Regions from separate parts of the Homo sapiens genome. Here region 1 is linked to region 2. The links are contacts of gene promoters, found by promoter capture Hi-C in human tissues and cell types (Jung and others, 2019). All regions are on one chromosome and are shown on one strand. Each heading gives the region's core, a stretch centred on a gene start or on the middle of the fragment in contact. The rest is flanking DNA. Distances are from core to core; before and after follow the strand shown. Region 1 overlaps ZNF33A (zinc finger protein 33A). Region 2 holds the start of ZNF33A (zinc finger protein 33A).

Evidence for each region. Contacts are between HindIII fragments. The study calls those that stand out against the background at their distance.
Region 1: a fragment that was not itself captured here is called in contact with the fragment with the promoter of ZNF33A in region 2 in 3 of the 25 tissues and cell types used here (dorsolateral prefrontal cortex, mesendoderm cells and thymus).

The regions. Positions count from the first base shown.
Region 1 is chr10:38,056,428-38,062,064 of GRCh38, forward strand. ZNF33A (zinc finger protein 33A) reads left to right here. Exons shown (of 5, transcript NM_006954.2): 5 at 1-3,660. The coding sequence ends at 133. Among named protein-coding and RNA genes, the nearest start is that of ZNF37A, 35 kb to the right of the region's middle. The HindIII fragment of the contact is 5,674 bases long and covers 1-4,422 here.
Region 2 is chr10:38,006,735-38,012,422 of GRCh38, forward strand. ZNF33A (zinc finger protein 33A) reads left to right here and starts at 3,941. Exons shown (of 5, transcript NM_006954.2): 1 at 3,941-4,049; 2 at 5,564-5,616. The coding sequence starts at 5,608. RefSeq lists an enhancer at 4,464-4,643. The HindIII fragment of the contact is 9,281 bases long and covers 1-5,688 here.

The DNA.
Region 1 (5,637 bases), core at 336-2,835, 47 kb after region 2:
GAGAAGACATATAGGAGAAAACCTTATGAATGAAATGGATATTAGAAATTTCCAGCCACAAGTCAGCCTCCATAATGCCTCAGAGTATTCACACTGTGGAGAAAGCCCTGATGACATCCTGAATGTTCAGTAACTATCCACAAACTCACCTTATGTTACTCCAAAGTAATAGTAGGGGATAAACCCATAGACTACAACAATTATAGGACAGCTTTTGTTAGGAAGTGATATTCTATGTAATATCAGATGGTTAATACGGGCATAACACCTTACAGATTTTTTTTGAATTTGTGAAAGTTTTTGGCAAAAATGCAAATAAGGTTATGTTAGAATTTACACTGAGGAGAAAATTGTCAATTTAAGAAATCTAAAGTGAAAATTTTGCTTAGAAATAAAATACGACAAGTTATGTTTTGAGTTTGATGCCATAATAGTTTTTAGGGCACCTAACAATAATTTATAGATGTATATTGTGGAATGTAAAGCTTTAAGAACTTAAACAAAGGTAATAATTAAAATAACCTCACAAGAAGTTTAATGAGTAGAGAGAATTCCCATGTACACTTCACCAAACTTCCTCTAAGGATAATGTATAATCATAGTATATGGTCAAGTCCAAGAAATCGATGTTACCTTGCTGGTAGATAGAGACTTAGTCAGATTTTACTATGGTTTGCATGCACTCTGTGTGTGTGTGTACGTGTATGTGTGTGTGTGTGGTTATATCAAACTTTTACGACTTTTACATTTGAGTAACCATCAACACGATTAGTTTACAGAACTGAAAAGGAATCTGAGATCTGTACTGTATCAGGATTACAAAGGATTTAGCCTCAAGTAGTTCCCTTTTTGTATTAATAACCACACGCTTTCTGCAACCCTATCCCTTGCATCCACTTGACTATGAAGTTTTTTTAAAGCACAGATAAATTGAATAATCAGGGCAATAGCATTAAGCACATCTGCGAATTATCCCTGAAGTTCAAAAGACTTATATATGTATAAGTGGTATGTGATATAAATCGTGTGTTTCATATGCATAATGGAATTTAACGTAATTGTGAATAGGAAGTAGGTATCCTAGTTTAGTAGTGGTTACATTATCAGGCCCATCCCAGATGTTTGTGATGTCCTGAAACAATTTAAAAGGAGACCCACAGAGCTAATGTTTATCCATTTAAAAGGTATAAATCAAAATAACAAATTATCTAAAAAAAATCTATCCTGTACATGTGAAGATCTAGGCTCGCCTCCATGTTACTCCCTTTCTCTTCCTACCTGTGGCTCATGCCATGCCATGAAGTGCCTAGGGTACATATGTGAACATTCCAGCCTTCAGCATAAGTGGTAGTCCAAATTTTCTTTAAGCAGCTGCTCTCCAAGACAGGGCCCTGGAAAGGCCCACACATACAGCCCAGGGCTGCCCAGGGCTGTTGGACTGTCATTTCAAGGCTCATTGTCCCCAGACAGGGATCTGGGCCCTCAGACTTTTGAGAATATGAAGAGGAGGGTTGAGGCTGGAGCAGAACCAGAATCAAGCTGGTGTGGGGCTTTTATTGATAGTGTGAAGATTGTACACTATATTACATGATCAGATCATACAAATAATCTAAGATTATACAGTCTAGTGATCCTAGATTACACAAGTAATCTAAGCTTCCACTTTAGGAAACTAGAAAAAGAAGAGCAAATTAAATCCAAAGTAACCTGAAAAAACATTAGAGTAAAAATCATTGAAATTGAAAAGAGAAAATCGATAAAACCCAAAACTGGTTCCTTGAAAAGGTCAGTAAAATTGATAAACCTCTAGCTAGCTTAAGAACAAACAGAAGACAAATATTGCTAATACCAAAAATGAAAGAGGCCATCACAGCTAATCCTATGGTCACCAAAAGGATTAGAAAGAAACATGGACAACTCTGTCCATAAATTTGATAACTTAGCTAAAATGGACCAATTCCTTGCAAGACGCATTCTCTCAAAGCTCACACAAGATAGACCTCAATAGGCATATGTATCTATTAAATAAACCAAAGCAGTAATTAATAACCTTCCAAGGCCAGGTACAGTGGTTCATGCCTGTAATCCCAGCACTTCACTTTGGGAGGCTGAGGCGGGTGGATCACAAGGTCAGGAGTTCGAGACCAGCCTGGTCAACATGGTGAAACCCCCTATCTACTAAAAATACAAAAAATTAGCTGGGCATGGTGGCATGCGTGTGTAGTCGAAGCTACTCAGGAGGCTGAGGCAGAAGAATCACTTGAACCTGGGAGGTGGATGTTGCAGTGAGCTGAGATTGTGCCACTGTACTGCAGCCTGGGTGACAGAATGAGACTGCATCTCAAAAAATAATAATGAAACTTTCCAAAACAAAGTGCCAGGACCAGCTGGGTTCACTGATGTGTTTTTGAGATACTTAAGGTAGAAATGATACCAAGTCTCTACCATCTCTTTCAGAAAATAAAAGCAGAGATAACACTTCCCAACTCATTTTGTGAGGCCAGTATTACCCTAATAGCAAAACCAGGCAAAGATATTACAAGAAAGGAAAACTACAGATCAATATTTCCATTGAACACAGATGCAGAAATCCTCAAAATATTAGCAAATCAGGAATGCAAGGCTTGTTCAACATTTGATATTCAGTGTAATCCATTGCATGCATTAGCAGCTCAAAGATGAAATACGATCATATCAATAGGTACAGAAAAAGCATTTGACAAAATCCAATATCCATTCATGTTAAAACCTCTCAACACAGAAGGAATACAGGAGAACTTACTCAAGTTGGTAAAGAACATACTACAAAAAACCCTACAGCTAACATTATCCTTGATGTTTCCAACTAGACACTTTCCTACTAAGATCAGGAACATGGCAAGGAACACCACACCACTGCTTTTCAGCATTGTACTGGAAGTGCTATATAATGCAGTGTTAAAAAAAAAAGAAATAAAATGCACATAGATTTGAAAGGATGAAATACAACTTTGTTCACAAGTAACATGATTGTCTTTGTAGAGAATTCTAAATAACAAAAACCCTGCTGACATTAATAAGCAATTACAGCAGGATTGCAGGATACAGTCCTCAGGTAGATGATAAAAAGGAATTGGACATCAAGTCATTAAAAGACACGGAGAAACCCTAAATGCTTATTGTTAAGTGAAAACCAATCTGAAAAGGCTTTCTATTTTGTATGATTGCAATTATATGACATTTTGGGAGAGGCAAAACTATTGAGCCAGTGAAAGGACCAGTGGTTGCTGAGAGTTGAGGGGAAAGGAGGGATGGCAGGTAGAGAGGTGATTTTTAAGGCAGTGAAAGTACTCTCTAGGGTACTGTAATTTGTCAAAACGCAGAGAATGGAAAACAGTGAACGGAAAACACAGAGTAAACCCTAATGTCAACTCTGGACTTCAGTTAATAATAATGTATCACTGTTGGCTCATTAATTGTAACAAATGAACCATAATGATGCAAGATGTTAATGATTGGGGAGCCTGTGGAAGATGGGAGGGGAAAGGGTTATATGAGAATTCTCTATACTTTTTGCTCAACTTTCTGTAACCCTAAAGCTACTCTAAAAAATGAAGTGTATCAAGTAAATAAATAACCAACCAACCAACCCTGAGGAACATCTTGTTTCTGTACTAAGGTGTTCTTTTGTTAGTTGTATGTTTCTGACTGAACATGTAAATCATCATTAGTGAACAATTGAATTGCTTTTGTACATCCTTAATATATTTTAAATTATGGTAACTGTGACCTGAAATTAAGGACTAGTATTTTTGGTTCTCTTGACATCTGAAGCCAATAGGGCCTCAAATGACCTAACCTCATTTCCATCCCCACTCTGCTTCCACAGGTGAGGTAACTTAGCAGACAGTCCTCCTTGTCAGGGGGGCCAGGCACAATTCCTGCTTATTCCTAAGTAGTAAGATTTGCTTCCCTGCCAGCTCTTGGAATTATCACCAAACCCCTCACATCCTCCCACAGCAAACAGTGGTCACTGTACTCTGGATAATACAGCTGCTCGCCACAACCCCTCCTTTTCCACTCTGCTCCCTAGTCGAACCCTGTGTGGCTCTTCCCAGCATGTGGTGTCCTTCTCACCTTTCTGAGAGTTGGTGTGACTGACAAACTCACCTAGATCTTATCTGTCCAGTGTCAGGCGTTCAGTGTTCAACCTTTCTATAGCATTGGGGTGGGGATCCTTCCTTCACCATCAGGGTGAAAAGGAAGCAGTTACAACCATTGGCATAAACAGGATGGCCCATCCGAAGCCAGGGTCATCCAGTCCAATTTTAACTAACTGCTCTTAGCTAACTGACAGGTTCCATATTATGGCAAAGGCTTCTTGGACAGAACCACCAGTTGCTGGCAGGTTTGCACTTGGCCTGTGCTGTAATGCACTTTTCTTGGGGGAGGTGAGTGTCGCATCTCTTCCCATTCTAAAATGCTGTTGTGCACAGGACAAGAGTGCTCACCCATTGGCTGTATCCCTTCATGACTTGACTTGGGCTCAGCCTGTTTGGCAGGTGGTCTCTGAGGCTCCCACCTGTACAGGTAGTGACCACACTGTACAGCACTTGACAGTCACTGTACAGTGACGAACTGATCAGCATTTGAGCCCCACTTTCCAAAGGTCTGGCTGGAGCTCTCTGATTATCATCACTGGCTGCATGGAACATCCCTACAGACTATTGTTTGTTACTGCACACCCCTGGCTTGGGCATGCAGATGGCCTATTGTGAGGTTTGTGGAAAGGCAGGAGACAACTGAGGGAGGTGAGTGTGGCACTCCAGTTGCCTAACAAGGCATTCAGGAAGGGTAGTACCTGCATCCCTTTCCTGTGCTGCTCCTTCACTTGCTGCCACCACACATGCTTTCCTGACCCCTAAGAGTGTCAAGATGCACATGCATGGTGGCCCATGGTCCAGGTGCTGATGAGAAGAGAAAAGGATACCAGTTCTCCCCAGATTACCAGAGGAAGTAATCTCTGTAACTCTCCTGCCCTCCCAATGCAAAACCCCTTGCCAGTGTGCCTGAGCGTGGCCTGGCATTGCTGCTTGCCAACATGCCACAGGGTCAACCTTGCAATCATGGGGCCTGATGGCCTACACCTGGGCCACAGACTACATGACCTTACCTTGAACATAGGGAGAGTGACTGTGACATCCAATATGCTTTGAGTGTTTGTGCCCCCTCCAAAAGTCATGTTGAGGCTGGGTGCAGTGGCTCAACAAATCCCAGCACTCTGGGAGGCCAAGCACAAATCCCAGCATTTTGGTAGGCTGGGGCGGCAGGATCACTTGAGGTCAGGAGTTCAAGACTAGCCTGGCCAACATGGTGAAACCCCGTCTCTACTAAAACTATAAAAATTAGCTGAGCATGGTCGTGCCTGTAATCCCAGCTAGTTGGGAGGCTGAAGCAGGAGAATCGCTTGAACCTAGGAGGCAGAGGTTGCAGTGAGCCAAGTTGGTGCCACTGCACTCCAGCTTGGGCAAGAGAGCAAGACCGTCTCAAAACAAAACAAAACAAAAAACAAGTCATGTTGAAACTGAATCCTCAGTGCAATAGCTTGCAAAGGTTTGGCCTTTGGGAGGTGGTAAGGTCATGAGAGCTCTACCTCAT
Region 2 (5,688 bases), core at 2,691-5,190:
CTTATATTTGGGAGCTAAAAAAATTGGGGCTCATAGAAGTAGTGAGTAGAATTATGGGCATTAGAGAGTGAGGGGATAGTGGGGAGGGAAGGATGGGGAAAGTTTGGTACATGAACACAAAATTACAGCTAGATAGAAGAAATGAGCTCTGGTGTTCCACAGCCCTGTAGAGTAAATATGATTGACTGTAATATCAGTCTATATCCCCTAAATATTCACAATTATTAGGTGTCAACTAAATATAAAAGGGAAAAAGGTACAAAAACAGAAAAAATGAGAGGCAAAAAATCAGACAGAGTTAATCAAATTCACAATAAAAATGAATAGCCGTGGCCAGGTGTGGTGGCTCATGCCTGTAATCCCAGCACTTTGGGAAGCAGAGGCTGGTGGGTCACCTGAGGTCGGGAGTTCAAGACCAGCCTGAACAACATGGAGAAACCCCATCTCTAGTAAAAATACAAAAAATTAGCCGGGCATGGTAGCGCATGCCTGTAATCCCAGCTACTCAGGAGGTGGAGGCAGGAGACTCACTTGAACCCGGGAGGTGGAGGTTGCAGTGAGCCAAGATCATGCCATTGCACTCCAGCCTGGGCAACAAGAGTGAAACTCTGTCTCAAAAAAAAAAAAAAAAAAAAAAAGAATAGCTGTGATGGTAAACTTGACTTGGTCACAGGGTGTCCAGATTAAACATTACTTATGGGTGCATCTGTGAGGGTGTTTACAGATTAGATTAGCATTTGAATCAGTGGACTCAGTAAAGCAGATTGCCCTCCTTATGTGTATGGACATGATTCAATCCACTGAGGGTCTGGATAGAACACAAGGCAGAGGAAGGAGGAATTCACCCATATTTTCTGCCTCATTGTTGAGTTGGGACATTTCATCTCATCCTCTCCTGTCCTTAGACTGGGATTTACACCATTGGCTTCCCTGGTTCTCAGGCCTCTGGACTCATACCAGAATTACACCACCAGCATTCCTGGATCTCTAGCTTGCAAATGACAGACTGTGGGACTTCTTAGCCTCCATAATCATGTGAACCAATTTCTCACCACCAATGTCTCTTTCTGCCTTACTCCCTCCTATTGGTTCTGTTTCTCTTGAGAATCATGACTAATACACTGGGAATAAACATTTCCCCAAGCCCATACCATAGGTGTATATTAGTGTTTTTTTCAATCTTTTCAAATCTTAAATTTAAAAATATTTTATTTATTTATAATTTCCCCCAGTTGGAAACAACTAGCATATCCCTGGACTGGGGAATGGATAAGGAAACTGGTAAATCCGTACCAAGAAATAGGAGTCAGCAATGTCAGAGATGATAAATTCTTCTTCAAAAAGCTTAAGTTCCCTGTTCTTTGTTGCTTAAGACCAACTTCCTTGTACTTCCTTGTCTCCTAGCTACCTGTTCTGTAAACAACCTTCCTGCCTTTGCTGTGCACAGACAAGTCCAGATATGACTTCCCACCTTTGCCGTGCCCAGACAAGTCCAGATATGCCTTCCCACCTAGTAATGGACAGTCCTCCTTCCTTCCCGCCTAATAGACCCTATTCAATTTTAAACCTTAGCCAATAGAGTTAGCTTAGACTGTGAGGTCCAACCCCAGCCAATGGGGAAGGGACACAGAAGTGCTAGGAACTGTATCAGGGATAAAATCCCCTGCCCTACCCCTCTCAGTGTACTCTTGTGATCGTGACTGGCACAAGCTGCACCCTTCTGCAGAAGTAAATTTGCCTTGCTGAGGAATTTTCTGCCTACGCGCTGGTTTTCTCTGTGGCACCGGGCACTTGTTTCTAACAGCAGGAAAAGCAAACAGAGGTATTGGTACACAAAACAACACAGAAGGATCTCAATTGCATTGTGTTAAGAGATACCAGATTCAACAACTACATACTGTGTGATTCCATTTATATAATATCCTAAAAAAGGCAAACATATAGGCCCAAAGAATAGATAGCGGTTGCAAGAGGCTAAGAGTGGTGAGAGAATCTGACTTTAAAAAGGTAGCATGGAGGAATTTTATTGACAGAGATGAAACAATTTTGTGTCTTGCTTGTAGTGGTGGTTACACAAATCTATGCATTGTCAAAACTCATAAAATTATGCATCAAATAAAGAACTTTTCAGTATATAAAGCATAAATTAAAAAATGTAAATTTCAATAAATGTTTCACGTATTTTTACTCAAATATTTGCATTTCTTTCTTTTTTTTTTTTTTTGAGACGCAGTGTCGCTCTGTCACCAGGTTGGAGTGCAGTAGCGCAATCTTGGCTCACTGCAACCTCCCCATCCTGGGTTCAAACGATTCTCCTGCCTCAGCCTCCTGAGTAGCTGAGACTACAGGTGTGCACCACAACGCCCCACCTAATTTTTGTATTTTTAGTACAGAAGGGGTTTCACCATGTTGGGCAGGATAGTCTCGATCTCTTGACCTCATGATCTACCCGCCTCAGCCTCCCAAAATGCTGGGATTACAGGCGTGAGCCACCACGCCTGGCCATATTTGCATTACTTTCAATTCTCATAATGGACTTAAAAAGTTTTGCTGGAATGGAGTTGCTTATTTTTCTCTATTATAAAATGTGACTGATATTAAATTTATAGTTTCTGTCTTTGGCATCACATCCCTTGTTGTTTTTTTTGAGACAAGGTCTCACTTTGTCACCCATGCTGGAGTGCAGTGGTGCCATGATGGCTTACTGCAGCCCGGGGCTCAAGTGATCCTCCAACCTCAGCCTCCTGAGTAGCTGGGATCACAGGTGCCTGCCTACATGCCAGGCTAATTGTTATTTTTAGTTTTTTGTAGAGATGGGGGTCCCACTATAGTGCCCAGGCTGGTCTTGAACTCCAAGGATCAAGTGGTCCTCCTGCCTCCGCCTCCCAAAGTGCTGGGGTTACAGGTGTGGGCCACTGTGCCTGGTCCACTTGTCAATTTTCAAAAATTTTTACTCTTTTAGTGGTTTAAATGTTTAAGTATTGTATACATGTGAGATTTTATCATGTGTGATCTATGTATATCTCTACATTCCAAATTGCTCGGAATGACATGCTCTTTGGAATACTCCATTCTTTCCCTCACTGTTTTGAAATGCTGTATCTACTACACATTAAAGAATACTCTTAAGCTGTCTTATTTCCATGGAGCAGGTGCCAAACTACTTTGAATAGAGCAATATTATATAGATAGATGTAGATAGATACAGATATTCCTTAGGCATTTTTTTCCTGCTTTTTAAAATGTATACTGGCTGTTCATTTGGGTTTTTACTTATTCTAGATAAAGTTGAGAATGCTTTTGTGAAGTACAGAATACACTAAAGATCAAAGAGAAAAAATACATAACAAAAATTTGTTGATATTCTTTTAGGAATTTTGTCTTCCTAAGAAAGGTACAGATAGACTAAAAGTATTTCCATTTAGTCAAGCAATTTTAATGTCACAGAGGAAATCATACGTGACATTTATTTTCTTCTTTCAGATTATGTCTAGTTCCTTACTGAGCTACAATTTCCGTTTATTGCTTTAACCATTTTGATGAAGTAGCTTTCCGGCCGCACCTTCCCCTTTTTTCCCCCGCTCCCAAAGAACCGCTGATAGCATGAAAGTCTTTTAAACTGTATGGACGAGATCTATTTCCTAACATTTAAACGGAAAATGACACGCAGCGGTCCTTTCCTTGAGCGTCTGCGTCTAAACTGCCCACAGACCTCCCCCGCAGTATATCCCTTTGGAGTGCCCCGGGGAAAGCCAGGGCTGCAGGCAGTTCCAGCACCAACTCAGACCGCATCTGCCCACTGCCTAGCGGGGCACTTCTCTACCAATCCGAAGGGCTGCTCGCCCGGCCTCACGGGAAAGGTAGTTTCCAGGTAGGGCGCCAACAGCATCAAGCTGTGCGCGTGGGCTCTGCGCATGCCTCGTCCGCCGGCTACGTCTGCGTTTCCGCCTTTCCTTTTGTTTTTCTCAGGTTTTGCGTGGGAGGCGGTCCCGGGATTTCAAGGGTCTACGCGCTTTTCTATGGCGAATGCAACCCGACGAGGGAGTGGGGTAAGCCCCAGTGGGTTGGGCAGGGAGAGAGAGGGAGCCCCGCGCGACTCCTGGGGCGGGCGGCAGGGGGCCGGTACCAAGTGGTGGGGAGGAGGCCCGGGGACCTCATAGGGGAAGGCGGGGACGGCGGGGCTGCAGCGTGTGGGCCACGACGCTAGGCCGGTTCCTCAAAGGCGCGGCCTCTGTACGGAGCAGGGTACGCAGCGTGTGTCGCCCCATTTGTGGGGGCCGCGGAGGAGGGCATGTGCGCTTGCGCAGTCCGCGCGCTGAGCCTTGCGGGAGGGGCAGTTCTCTTGTCTAGCCTGTGCGCGTGTGCTAGGGCGCCGCGGTACGTGGGCGGGGAAAGGCGGGTGCAGTCGCCCGCCAGACCGGCAGACTCGGTTGCACGTATTGCATTCATCCTCTTTAGGTTCCGAACTGACCTCCAGTCAGGTCCATCACTGCATCTTGGTATTTGCTGTTCCTCTGTCCTGACTTGATCTTGCACTCAGGAAAGATCTTCAAGAATTACCTAATTTTGGCCTGGCGCGGTGGCTCTCGCCTGTAATCCCAGCACTTTGGGAGGCCGAGGCGGGTGGATCACCTGAGGTCAGAAATTCGAGACCAGCCTGACCAACATGGTGAAACCCCGTCTCTACTAAAAATACGAAAAGTAGCCGGGCGTGGTGGCGCATGCCTGTAATCCCAGCTACTGAGGCGGAAAATTGCTTGAACCCGGGAGGCGGAGGTTACAGGTAGCCAAGATCGCACTATTGCACTCCAGACTGGGCAACAAGAGCGAAACTCCGTCTCAAAAAAAAACAAAAACAAAGAATTACCTAATTTTGCCTCATTTGTTAGAAGAAAAAGATTTTTTTTGTTTTTTTGTTTGTTAAGGTCACTGACTTGTTCAGGATCACAGTTAGTAGGGAAGACTAAGTCACATCTCCTGACCCCTAAGCCAGTACTGTCTACTTTTCCACACACATCAAAGCAAGTTTAAAATATCCCTTTGAGAAATAGCAACAAAGTTAGATGAAGAAATTAAAACTGATTTTTTCTTTGAAGCACTGCCGCTTATGGCTTTCTGTGGAGTCACTCACCAGAGGTTAAGTAACATTACTGGGAAAATAGATAGCTTAGTCCTATTTTTTACAATGGTTTTAGTGTTAATGTTCCTTCATTAAATATATTGTTAACTTGTTTGGCCAATATTGTCATTATACTTTTTTTTGTGAACACCGAGGGAGATTGAAATCCTTAGGAAGCAAATATTTACTTTCACCCGGTAAAAAATCTTGTGCCCAAGAGCTACATAATTATGTTGGAGTTATTCTTTCACCATTTCTACCGCCTATTCCGAAGTGTTCTTCCACCATTTCTACCCCCTATTCCAAAGTGTCAGAGGACATTGATACTCTCCCAGAGGAAGCATTTTACCTAGTGGGTGTGTATGGCTTCTTAGGGCGGAAGAATCCAGGAGTTGCCAGGCAGGCCAAATCTTTCATGACCCCATTCCTCTTTTTCTAACTCAGCTGTATCTTCAGAGTTGTCTCCGTCTTTCCAAGAACAGAACAAAATGAACAAGGTAAGTTGTTTATTAATTCCCTACTTTATTTTGCAGTGGACTTTGTGAGATTTGTAAGAGTCGATATGGTGT